Regions from separate parts of the Homo sapiens genome. Here regions 1 and 2 are each linked to region 3. The links are contacts of gene promoters, found by promoter capture Hi-C in human tissues and cell types (Jung and others, 2019). All regions are on one chromosome and are shown on one strand. The core of a region is centred on a gene start or on the middle of the fragment in contact, and the rest is flanking DNA. Distances in the headings are between cores, read along the strand shown.

Region 1 (4,446 bases), core at 1,707-4,206, 250 kb before region 3:
AGTATTTGAAGAGGCTGTTCCCTGGGGGCAGTGATTATGTATTTCCTATTTATGCTGCATACCAGCTCCTAGCATGGTGCAGGCACAGAGTATGCTCTCAGTGAATGAATAAATGAGAAGGTAAAACAAGAAACAGATGGACCTAGGGAAATATATTTTCTCCTTTGGTTACCTCTAGGTGTAATGTACCATGTCTCCCTTTACCTACAGAAGGTTACCGCAAAGAGCATCTTAATGATCAAAAAGAGTTAGTGTGGCTGACTCTAAAAGAAAACCCCACCAAGCTTTTGAAAAGATACTGAAAGGACCAGGAATCTAGTGTGATACTTTGGGGTTTTCATCCTCTATTCTATAGTAAATAATGCCATGAGGTTGAGCATGAAATCAACCATGGCCCTAGTTTGGAAATGCAATGCCCACCAGTGGGTGCATAAATACACCAAGGTACAAGAGTCTCTAGTAGGACCTGCATTATCTTGTTTTCTTCTCTCTGTGGTTTGGGGACAAAGACCTTAAAGTGGGTCAGCAGTCAGTATTATAAAGATGCAAGCTTCTCAGGGAAAGCTCTCAGCTCAGACTGCACTCAAGATTCAGGGTTTCCTGAGGTCTACAAACGCAAATGCCTTTTCCAGAGCAGTAATTTAATATGTCATATTCTATTGTGGTTGGCGAAGTTTGCCCAAATTATCCCTTCTATGAAGCTGAAACTTGACCTCGTAGCTTTGTTTTTGGAAAATTCTTTTTGTAGTCTGAAATCAGTTGGCTTCCACTTTGAAAATAATCGTCTTTAAACTATATAAATAAACAAACTTCTGACAAAGTTACCCCCCAGTCTCAGTGGGCTTTGACTTTTCTAAAAGAACAAAGTTGGGGCCAGTGGGAGGCTGAGGATGGGCTGTTCCTAATGTTTTGATTTTGTAGGAGGTGTTTTGATTGCTATAGAAGTAAGCAGAATATCCCCACTGATCTCAATTACCATGGTCCCTTCATTAAAGGGTCCTGCCAGCATCACATCACTTCTGTGAAGAGAAGGTCTTGGCTCACAAAGCCATTCACACAGGGCTGTTTGACTCCCACTGGCAAACATCCCAAGGGAACTTCTGCTTCCTGGAAATCACTCTCTTTCTAATTCAGGGGAGAGAGCGCTCTCAACTGTTTTAAATGCCACCCTGTGCTCAGCAGGCTAAGGAAAGAAGAAAAGTTAATCGTTCCTTTCAGGACCAAAACTGAGCATCAAGGCAGAAATGGCAAAAAAGGAAGCAAGCTTTGAGATCACTGGGAATGTAAAGAAAACTAACTTCAACACCTACTGGTGTTGCTTCCCACCAATGTGCAGAAGCCCGGTGTTTCATGACCCAGCTGTTTCTCCAGTTCTCTCTGTGACTAGTGCTCCAAAGCTCCTGACCTCACCAAATAGGAAATGTTCAAAGATGAGAAAGACCAGAAGATCAGTCCCTGATCTTCAAAGTTACAACTCAGATGGGAGGACGGGGCGGAATAGGATATATGCACAAATAGCAACAAAACAAGGTACAGTAAGATGGTATGGATGCCAGTACAGCTCTATGGTCCCATGAAATAAGGAAACATTTCATTTGGTGCAGGGTAAAGAATGATTTCATGACATATGAGATGGATCTTGAAGAATGGATTGAATTTGCACAGGAACAAATGAATGCCTGTGCAGGGCAGGGAGGACTATATTTCTTGGAATACAGAAAATTAGCAAAGTATAAATGTGGGGAAGTGCCCAAGAGAGGGAAAGAGAACAGGAAGAAATCCACTCTGCACTTTGAGGTTGTCAGAATCTGTTCAGGAGGTAGAAATCACAGAGAGAACTTAATATTGTTACGTGTGTCCGTATAAGAGACCACCTGAGCAGGCTTAGTGTGAGCAACAGGGCTGTTTATTCACTTGGGTGCAGGGCTGAGTCCGAGAAAGGAGTCAGAGAAGGGTGGGATTATCATTGGTTCTTACAGGTTTGGGATAGGCGGTGGAGTCAGGAGCAATTTTTGCGGGCAGGGGATGGATGTTACAAGTACATTCTCAAGGGCAGGGAGGACGTTACAAAGTACCTTCACAAGGGCGGGGAGGATGTATTGTCAAAATAGCAGGGAGGAATGTTACAAAGTACATTCACAAGGAGGGGGAATATCACAAAGTACATTATCATGGGGGGAGGGTGGGGCGGGGAATGCCTTGGCTTTACCATGGTGTGGCCAGCTCAGAGGACCTTACGTTCCTTTTTATGTTAATAATGAAGAAATAAAACGAGAAAGAGTAATGAAAACTTGGGGTAAAAATTTTGGGGGCAGTATGGAGGGGTGATGGGCGACGTTTCTCAGGGCTGCTTTGAGCAGGATTAGGGGTGGCACAGGAACCTGAAGTGGGAGAGATTAGACTGAAGTAAGATTTTGGGGTAAGTTTGTGATATATCTGTAATGCTAGCAGAGGAGTCATTAGAGAAGCTGCAGACTGTTGTGACAGAGGTTGAGATGCCTGCTATTCCAGTTCCAAGTGCAATAGTGGAGGCAGAAAGTCCTAAATCCACAAGTAAAGGGATTAGTGGGATGACTCTTTTTTGTCGTGTTGGTGTCATGAGGGGGACTGGCAGTTGTTCGTTCCATCTGCAAGCTGCATTTTGGGGATAAGGAAGACTACAGTACATGTGCAAGTTTAGTTGGCAGGTAGGCACGTGTAGGTGGAAGAGCCACATAAAAAGAAGAGACCTGTTATTGCTCAATCTCGGGTGGCTGCACGCCACTTGTCCCTCTAAGAAGTTGGGGGATGCTGACCACTCAGGGTCGTGTAACTTATAAGGGCATCAAAGAATAGTTACCTACATATAAACTTGAGAACTAGATAAGTGAAAAGGCAGTGCTGTGGTGAACCACAGGGAGCTGAGGCAAAGAAAGATACATAATTGTGTGTGTGTGTGTGTGTGTGTGTGTGTGTATGTATATATATATATTTTTTTTTTTTTGAGACAGAGTCTCGCTCTGTTGCCCATGCTGGAAGTGCAGTGGCACAATCTTTGCTCACTGCAACCTCCGCCTCCAAGGTTCACGCCATTTTTCTGCCTCAGCCTCCTGAGTAGCTGGGACTACAGGCGCGCGCCACCATGCCTGGCTAATTTTTGTATTTATAGTGGAGACGGGGTTTCACCATGTTAGCCATAATGGTCTCGATCTCCTGACCTTGTGATCCGCCCACCTCAGCCTCCCAAAATGCTGGGATTACAGGCGTGAGCCACCACACCTGGCTGGGAATTTTGTATATTTTTTAAGATAATTTTTTTCCAGAACATTAAAGTAATTGAAAAATACTGGCCGGGCACAGTGACTCACACCTGTAATCCCAGCACTTTGGGAGGCCGAGGCAGGCAGATCGCTTGAGGTCAGGAGTTCGAGACCAGCCTGGCCAGTGTGGTAAAACACAGTGTGGTCTCCACTAAAAATACAAAAATGAGCCAGGCGTGGTGGCGTGCACTGGTAGTCTCAGCTACTCAGGAGGCTGCGGTGGAAGAATTGCTCGAACCCAGGAGGCAGAGGTTACAAAGCTGAGATCATGCCACTGCACTCCAACCTGGGCAATGAAGGGAGGCTCCATCTCAAAAAAAAGAAAAAGAAAAAAGAAAAATATTGAAAGTCCGAAAAGTAGGTGTATTAAAATTCACAATGTTATTTTTATTTTCCATTTTTCTGAGATGAAGTCTTGCTCTGTTGCCCGGGCTGGAGTGCTGTGACACAATTTCAGCTCACAACCACCTCTGCCTCCTGAGCTCAAGCAATTCTCCCACCTCAGCATCCTGAGTCGCTGGGACTACAGACATGTGCCACCACACCCAGCTAATTTGGTATTTTTTTGTACAGACAAGGTTTGGCTATGTTGCCCAGCCTGGCCTCAACCCCTGGGCTCAAGTGATCTACCCGCCTCAGCCTCCCAAAGAGCTAGGATTACAGGCATAAGCCACTACTCCCACTACTCCCAGCCCACAGTGTTATTTTAAGTTTAATATTTTACTTATGCCAAAAGCTAATTTGTTATCACTCTGTATCAGCTTAAGCTAAGTAAAAATTATTAAAGATCATCTCTTGGACAAGAGAAATTGTCAAACACAGTAATTCTCTCAACTAAAAATGAAATTAGCAACAAAGTAGATTTTGAATATATTATTGATGAGTTTGTTTTTATTAAAACCAGTGGCCCCAGGCTCTAATGTGGCTCAGCGGGCACTGGTCTCTACTAAAATTTTGATATTTTGTTCATTATGGGTTTTTTTTCATTTAATTTTGATTTTTTAAAATATTATATTTGAATATACAGTAATTTATCCTGATTCCTTAGTATTAGTGTTCCCTTAAATTTTGTTCCTGAGGCAGATGCTTCATTGACCTCACCCTCATCTCTGTCTTTTGAAAAGATAAAACAAGAACTAACAGCCTA
Region 2 (4,105 bases), core at 1,109-3,608, 190 kb before region 3:
TGTTCTTTCAATTATTATGGACTGATCTTTTTATCCCTATTAAATTCTTTTTGTCTTATATTCGATTTTGTATGGTATTAATATTGCTATGCCCCTTTATCTCGGTTGATACTTGAATGCTATAGCTTTTTATCCACTCCCCTTTTTGATAACTATTTTGAAATAACTATATATTCACAGAAACTTGCCACAGCAAAAAATGTGCAAGGAGGTATTTAGCACCCTTTTCTCACTCACTGTTCCCATTTTGCATAACTATACATCCCTTTATTTTTAAAATTCTAACCTATGCCTCTTGTAGGCAACATGCAGCTAGATTTTGCTTTATTATCCATTCTGATCATTTCAGTCTCTTTAAAAGGTGAGTTTAATCTGTCTACCGTTAGTGATTATTTACACAGCTGGAATTGTTTCTATTTTCTTATTCTCATTCTTTGCTTTTTCTTTTCCTGATCTTCCTGATCACCATACTTTTTATTTGCTTCATTATTGCTTTTCTGCTCTTTCATTTTCTTCTTGCTTAGAGGTATAATTTTATTTACATAGTCCATATTATTCTCACCAAAATATTTTATCAGTTTCCATATTTACAGTATTTTTGTATCTCAATGCCTTTTCTTTGGGTTCAGATTTTTTCCTGCTGAAGTATATCCTTTAATAGTTTTTTGTTGTTAGTATTGTTTTTATTTTATTTTTTATTTTTCTTTTTGAAATGGAGTCTCGCTCTGTCACCCAGGCTGGAGTGCAGTGGTGCCATCTTGGCTCACTGCGACCTCCGCCTCCCAGGTTCAAGCGATTCTCCTGCCTTGGCCTCCTGAGTAGCTGGGATTACAGGCATGTGCCACCACGCCCGTCTAATTTTTGTATTTTTAGTAGAGACAGAGTTTCACCATGTTGGTCAGGCTGGTCTCGAACCCCTGGATCTTGTGATCTGCCTGCCTTGGCCTCCCAAAGTACTGGGATTACAGGCATTAGCCACCATGCCCAACCAGTATTGTTTTTAATTAAGAAGACATCTGTGGCCAACTCTTAGTATAGCCCTCATTCTCTGGGTATAAAACACTAGGCTAATAATTATGGCCTTTAAGGTTATTTAAGATACTATTTCACTCTATGCATCTATCTTTGCTGATAATAACTTCAGTTATTAATATGTGGTAATCTTTTTTCCCAGTAACTTAAATTTTCCTAGTTTTACTATAATGTGTCTTATTTTGGTTTATTTTTCATTATTCTTGGTACTTGAACTACCCTTCTAGTAAATTTATTTTATGTTTTAACTTTTACTTTTTTTTTTTGCGACAAAAATCTCACTCTGTTGCCCATGCTGGAGTGTAGTGTTGCAGTAATGTGATTATGGCTCACTGCAGCCTCGAACTCCTGGGCTCAAGCAATCCTCCTGCCTCAGCCTCCTAAAGTGCTAGGATTACAGGTGAGAGCCACTGTACCCAGCCCTCTCCTAATTTAAAAACTTGTGTTTGAACTTGATTCTGAGAAAGCCTTAGCTAGTCACTGTTTAAATATAATTTCTCTACTCTTCCCTCCATTTTCTTTTCTGGACCTTCTTTTGAATACATGGGGAAAGCCTTCCATCTATCCACTATTTCTGCATGAATGGTTTCATCAACTAATTTTCTCCTTCAATTATGTCCAATATACTTTATCCAATTTCTTAAGGTATATTTATGATTTTTATTTTTCATATTTCTAATCAGTTATTTTTCATGTTTACCCATAGTTGGTTTATTTATGCCTATTTTGTCTTACATTTTTTTCTCTACCTTTTACTTTTTTTTTTTTAGAATATTTCTCTTAATTTTCCCTTGAAGTACCTTAAATATTTATGTGAAAGTCTTCTTTCAGATTGTCCTATTATTTTTATCTGACCCACATTTACTTGATGATGATCTTGCAGTTTTCTTTCTTGGCATTGCATTTCTTCATGCATTCTCAATATTTGGTTTGCAGGCTCCTTGGCTGTTTTTGCGTTTTGCTTTTTGCTTTCACTCCCTTCGGGTACTCAATCCTACTTGCCCACAGCTTGGACATTGCTTCCACTCACCTCTAGGGGGCGCAATGCAGAACCAAATCATTGCACAGGGCGCGGCTGGAGACACTGCAGTTCAGTTATGGGCCTCTGGGGGGCTCGTCGCATGCCGTTCCGGCTTGTGAGTCTGTGTCCTCCCTCTTCTTCAGGTCCACAGAAACCCAACTGTCGCAGAAACCTGAGTGGTAAAGTGTCAGCAGCAGGAGTTCTGAATAACATTTCAGGGGCAGAAAAACCGCACTGGCCTTTCCTTCAATGGTGAGCAGACTCTAGCCCGTCTTCTGCGGAGCGATTTATCCCGACAGAGCCCAACTCCGACCCACAACCACAGTCCTGGATCTTCAGCTCACTCATCTGTCTCTGTCCAAGTGCTGCTTCCCAGTCTACACAGACCCTAATTTGGGTTTTGAGCATCACTATGCCTTTTTATATCTTCATTTTATATTTTCACCACCACTGCTGTATGTTTAGAAAAGAAGAAATGTCCCAAAGAGGCTGGGCTCGGTAGCTCACGCCTGTAATCGCAGCACTTTGGGATGCCGAAGCAGGGGGATCGCTTGAGGTCAGGAGTTCGAGACCAGCCTGGCCAACATGGCAAAACCCCGTCCCTACTAAAAATGCCAAAATTAGCTGGACGTGGTGGCGGGGGCCTGTAATGCCAGCTACTCGGGAGGCTGAGGCAGGAGAATTGCTTGAACCCGGGAGGCAGAGGTTGCAGTAGGCAGAGATTCCACCATTGTATTCCAGCCTGGGCGACAGAGCAGGACTCTGTCCAAAAAAAAAAAAAGAAAAGAAAAAAAGTTCCACACAATGGAGTTAGCATCCACTTGAATAAGATTCTGTATTAATTCAGGATCAAAAGATTTGAGAGGAAAAAAAGGTTTTTGTTTGTTTGTTTTTTTGAGACGAAGTCTCACTTGGTCACCCAGGCTGGAGTGCAGAGGTGTGATCTCAGCTCACTGCAACCTCTGCCTCCTGGGTTCAAGCGATTCTCATGCCTCAGCCTCCTGAATAGCTGGGACTACAGGCACGTGCCACCACGCCGGGCTAATTTTGTACTTTTAGTAGAGATGGGGTTTCGCCATGTTGGCCAGGCTGGTCTCGAACTCTTGATCTCAGGTGATCCACCTGCCTTGGCCTCCCAAAGTGCTGGGATTACAGGCATGAGCCACCGCGCCCGGCCAAAAAAATGTAGTTTTAATGGCTGCAAGTTTTTGAAACTGTTGTTATATGGAGAGCATAGCAACTATGTCCTCTGATAAATAAGTTTGTAACAGCCCTGTGTTCAATGGCTAATAGGTGGTATTTTTAAAAGACTTGTAGCTCGTGAAACATTGTAAGTGCCTTGTGATTTGTGTTTGTGTGAAAACTGGAGCTTACTCCAAATTTATGTTGAAACTTATTATCTTTTCACTTTCTCAAGAATGACAACTGGGAAAAGTTAAAAACTCAAAGGCCAAATATTATGTCAAACCAGTAATGGAGGTACAGAAAACATCAGAAAAATAGAATATCAGAAGTCAAAGAGGGATTTATCTTTCCTAGTTCTATTCTCTACTGGATGGATAATCTTATTCCCTGGGGGTTGCTGGAAGAAGAGAGGTGAGTCTTACTTTTTTATAGCAAGTTGTTATGGGGGAAAAAAATCTGTACCAAAGAAACCAACTTTTTTTCTGTAATAAAAACGTATTTTTGGGCTAGGCACGGTGGCTCACACCTGTAATCCCAGAACTTTGGGAGGCCAAGGCAGGCGAATCACTTGAGGTCAGGAGTTTGAGGCCAGCCTGGCCAACATGGTGAAACTCCTGTCTCTACTAAAAATAAAAAAATTAGCCAAGTGTGGTGACGCACACCTGTAATCCCAGCTACTCAGGAGGCTGAGGCAAGAATCACTTGAACCCGGGAGGCAGAGGTTGCAGTGAGCCGAAATCATGCCATTACACTCCAGCCTGGGCAATAAGCAAAACCTCCATCTCAAAAAAATGTATAAAACCAAATTTTTGGTTTTAGCTTCATTCTGTTTTTAAATCTCTCTAGGTATGATGATGTCCCTGGCAT
Region 3 (4,254 bases), core at 612-3,111:
GAGCTTGGTCCGCCGTCCTTTTTAACATGTTTCTGTTTGTCTGTATTTTATAGTTAGTTGTAGGCTTTCTGGCACAGTAATGATCCAGGCTTATCTTAGATATTTACTGTTACAGACTTGATACTTTTTATTTGGCAGAGACATTGACAGAGTGAGACTAAGATTTGGGGAGCTGGTTGATAAAGAAGGCAAGATAAAGAAGATTCAGAGTAAGAAAATATTTGGGGGGAATTCTTGGCCAAAGATTTACCTCGGGTATGTCTCTCAAGCTCTTAAAACCTGAATTTCTTTTCCTGGAATATGAAGATTATTATGCCAATTGCTCAGGTAGGTTGTGAAAATTAATAAACCAAGCCCTATGATTGGCACATAGTATTTTTTGGCCATTATCACTAGTGACAACCTTTCAACTAGGTTAATTTCTCATACCGGTGAACTCCAATTACCTGCCTCCAATGGGTTTGTGATCAAACTTGCTTAAGTTTATGTTCAGAGGCTTTGCTTAAATGTGGCTCTAAGATGTTCTAAGGGCACTAGAGTGTTTCTAGGTAAGGTTAAATGGGTACAGGCTCTAAAAGGCCGATGAAACAGACAGCTTTCATGGGAACTGTATGCAAATTTGAGGAAGCAAAAGATACACCCGCCCTCCAACACTATATGTATATATGTACATTTCGTGGTTTGAATTAGGATCTTAAATGAAATGTAGCCTGGTAAAATGTAGACTGGATGTAAATCCAAGCTCCGTCACTTACATTTCCCATTTTAAAAAGTGAAGATACTTACACTTTCCTGGCGCAGTGGTTGTGAGTGTAACATTTGGGCCAAGGAGACGGTCGATCTATCGTGGCGCAGGGTCATATTTGTACCTTAGGCGGCACTTCCACCTGGTGGCGGCGCATTCCAATTGCAAGGCAAAGGACAGAGTGGGGGAAAGGCTGAATTCGACACCCTTAAGTAAAGCCACAGAATTAAACTACTGTAAATGAAAATATTTCCATCCTGTACCTACAGAGTGCTTACTTCAAATAACACTCACGTCCTGGTAGGACAGAAAAATTAGACAATGAGCTGAAGTTTGCCTGCAAGGGCATTCATTCATTCATTCATTCAAGAAACATCTGTTGAGCGCTGACTGCGCTGTGCTCTGTTCTGGGCGCTTGGGATACATCAGTGAACTAGAGACAAAAATTCTGCCCCGGGATGCCTTCTCCTATACATCCTATACTATATAAACTAAACTAGAAAATTTGTAAAGAGCTCTTAGGAATTACAACGTCCTCTCCAAAGTCAAGGGGACGTGTTCCGAGGCCTCTATTACCACAGCTAAGGGGAGAACCGGGGTGCAGACCCACTCCAGCCGAACTAAGAACCTACCCGGCACAATTGAAAGTTAAGCCACGCGCTAGAGGATGTCATCGCTGACAAAATAGAAGACGCCTTCCCCATTCCCCCCCACCCCCGCCCCCGCCAAGAAAACCATATATTCTTTTAGGGAAGCAAGCGCTTCACCTGGGTGGCCGGGATCGAACCCGCGGAGGGCTGAAGGCGGAGGGCAACGACGCCTGTGGAACTCTGTTTCCCTGCAGAGCCTACGTGGTGGGCGGCAGGCCGACCGCCCTGGGGGCCCTGCACCTCTGGGTAGGTGACCGCGCCCAGGTATCGAGCACAGGTAACGCGCCCCGGCTCCGAGTCTCGGGGTCTCAGCCACTGAATCCCCAGCGAGGCCTGACGCCCCCCGGTGGAGGCGAGCAGTCTGAGTGCTGGGTCCGGAACAGACCTGTCCTGCGGAACTCCGAGTGCGCGTTCGGTTTCCGGGGGAGGAGGGCGGAGAAGGACTTGCGCGCGACGGTTCTCACCGCTGCTATGGAGGCGCTGGCCATGGGTTCCCGGGCGCTGCGGCTCTGGCTGGTCGCACCCGGTGGCGGGATCAAATGGAGTGAGTTTCAGAGGCCGTAGGGACAGGGAGCGAGGCCTAGATAGTGGTGTCTGTCTAGATTGGGTCTGAGGCGGGGCCGGGGAGGTCCCGCGGGGCAGAGGAAGGAGGAGGGTTTCTTAGTCCCTCCGCGGCGGTCGCTCTTGCACAGCTTGGGAGGACTAATTTATGGGAACGAGGGTCTGGCGGAGGGCAGGGGCAAGGGCAGGGGTCGGGGCCAGGGGTCGGAGCCAGGCCGCGGGAGGAGCTTGGGCCCGCCTCTGGGAAGCAGCGCACGTTCCGTGCACATCTGTCCATGTCTTCCCAAGGAATACTCGTACTTGCCTTGGCAGGTTCCCTGATTTGGCCTTTGGGATATAAACTCAGCATTTCTCATTCTGGATATTGATAGTTTCGGTGTGGGACCTTTGGTTTCCTGAAATTTTCTTGTTTTTCTTCAGACCCTGTCAAACCGACCACTTTGTTCACCTTCCCAATGACTCTAGTCCAGTTTTGACTCCGTTTCCTGGTTACTTTTTGCCCCTTATTGTAAAGCACTGATTGGAAACACGACACAGGAAATTGGTGGGAAATAGCGATCTGATGTGAAAGAGCCAAATTTAAAAGTAGAGGCACGTATCTGGGCCAGCTCTGTTTCTTCCGCTGGTGTTTGTTAATATTACAAATTGGTTTAATTTTACCTCTGAGCGCACTTTTGGCAGTACGTTAATCATTTTTTCAGTCTTCATATTTATTGTAACTTCTCCACAGGATTTATAGCAACATCGTCAGCTTCTCAGCTGTCACCGACAGAATTGACAGAAATGCGGAATGATCTCTTTAATAAAGAGAAAGCCAGGCAGTTATCATTAACTCCCCGAACTGAGAAGATAGAAGTTAAGCATGTTGGGAAAACTGACCCCGGTACTGTCTTCGTGATGAATAAAAACATTTCAACTCCCTACAGTTGTGCCATGCGTAAGTAGCAGAATCAGGTTACAGTTTTGACCCTTTTACTTAAGCTGTGTGGAAGCACTGGTGCAGGAGACAGGATGCTGTAATTACTTCTGGTCATCTGTGGCCATGGCAATCCCTTTATACCAAAATCCTTTCTTGAGACCTGCATGGTGACTGCTCCCACCACATCACAGACCTAGCTAAAAAGAGCAAGCAAATCCCAGCTACTTGGGAGGCTGAAGCAGGAGGATAGCTTGAGGCCAGAAGTTCAAGACCAGCCTGGGCACCATAGCCACCCTGTCTCTCAAAAAATAAAAATAGAAATAAATTAGCCAGATGTGGTGGGCGCAGAAGTCCCTGGACTTCCCAGAGGTTCTTTATCTGGCACCTTATTGTCTATTCACTGTCCCTGTAGTTCTGGAGGGTACTCTGAGTATTGCAAGGTTGGCACTGTAGTGCACAGATTGTCCTGCCTGGCGCTTGTTTGAATCTGGCTTTGTTTATGGTACTAGATAATTTTCTGGCAGAAGGTGACCAGACCTGAGTGCATTGTTACTAGTGTGCTTTCTCCTTTAATTTAATTTAATTTTAGAGATGAGGGTCTGGCCCTGCTCCCAGGCTGGAGTGTAGTGGTACTATCATAGCTCACTGAAACTCCTAGCCTCAGCCTACGAAGTAGCTGGGACTACAGGTGCCCACCATCACACCTGGCTAATTTATTTTTATTTTTGAGAGAGAGGGTGGCTGTGGTGCCCAGGCTGGTCTTGAACTTCTGACCTCAAGCTCTCCTCCTGCTTCAGCCTCCCAAGTAGCTGGAATTTGCTTGCTCCTTTTAGCTAGGGCTGTGATGTGGTGGGAGGAGTCACCGTGCAGGTCTCAAGAAAGGATTTTGGTGTAAAGGGATTGCCATGGCCTCAGATGATCAGCTTTTTTTTGCCGCCTTTTTCTTTCTCCCCTCTTCATTGTATAGCCTAACTTAATCTATCATCTGCTTTCCACTTGGCTCTCTCTGTGTTGTATTTTTGTTGACATTTAGATGTACATGTGGTAAATGTGTGAGTGGGAATGTGCATGGGGTGAATGTGATTGGGGTAAAAGTATTTATGTATATCTTAAAGGAGACAACTGTGCCCCATGTGTGATTTTGTGTGGAAATGAAGGGAATAAGAACTTCTATATTTTATTTTTGATCAAAATGTTTTGATAGTACGTTTGATAGAACTGGTAATATTTAAATTAAAGAAGCCCCAAAACAGATACAGGCATGACTAGCTGCATTGCTTAAACTTTTGGAAAACTCAGTAACCATTCCATTTAAGTAATTAACAACTTTAGTTATCAGCTTAAACTGGCCTAGAGAGTCTACACTCACTCTTAATCTT

What was found. The method cuts DNA at HindIII sites, captures the fragments that hold promoters and counts their contacts. A contact is called where the count stands out against the background at its distance.
Region 1: a fragment that was not itself captured here is called in contact with the fragment with the promoter of MRPL39 in region 3 in 1 of the 25 tissues and cell types used here (lymphoblastoid cells).
Region 2: a contact is called between a fragment that was not itself captured here and the fragment with the promoter of MRPL39 in region 3, in 1 of the 25 tissues and cell types used here (lymphoblastoid cells).

The regions. Positions count from the first base shown.
Region 1 is chr21:25,854,116-25,858,561 of GRCh38, reverse strand. No RefSeq gene overlaps it. Among named protein-coding and RNA genes, the nearest start is that of GABPA, 120 kb to the right of the region's middle. The HindIII fragment of the contact is 4,098 bases long and covers 908-4,446 here.
Region 2 is chr21:25,799,714-25,803,818 of GRCh38, reverse strand. It overlaps LOC105372757 (a long non-coding RNA gene), which reads left to right. Exons shown (of 3, transcript XR_937622.2): 2 at 2,197-2,305; 3 at 3,471-3,668. Among named protein-coding and RNA genes, the nearest start is that of GABPA, 67 kb to the right of the region's middle. The HindIII fragment of the contact is 6,202 bases long and covers 1-4,105 here.
Region 3 is chr21:25,605,088-25,609,341 of GRCh38, reverse strand. MRPL39 (mitochondrial ribosomal protein L39) reads left to right here and starts at 1,861. Exons shown (of 10, transcript NM_017446.4): 1 at 1,861-1,939; 2 at 2,687-2,893. The coding sequence starts at 1,867. RefSeq lists a silencer at 757-816 and an enhancer at 1,797-1,916. The HindIII fragment of the contact is 22,766 bases long and covers 1-4,254 here.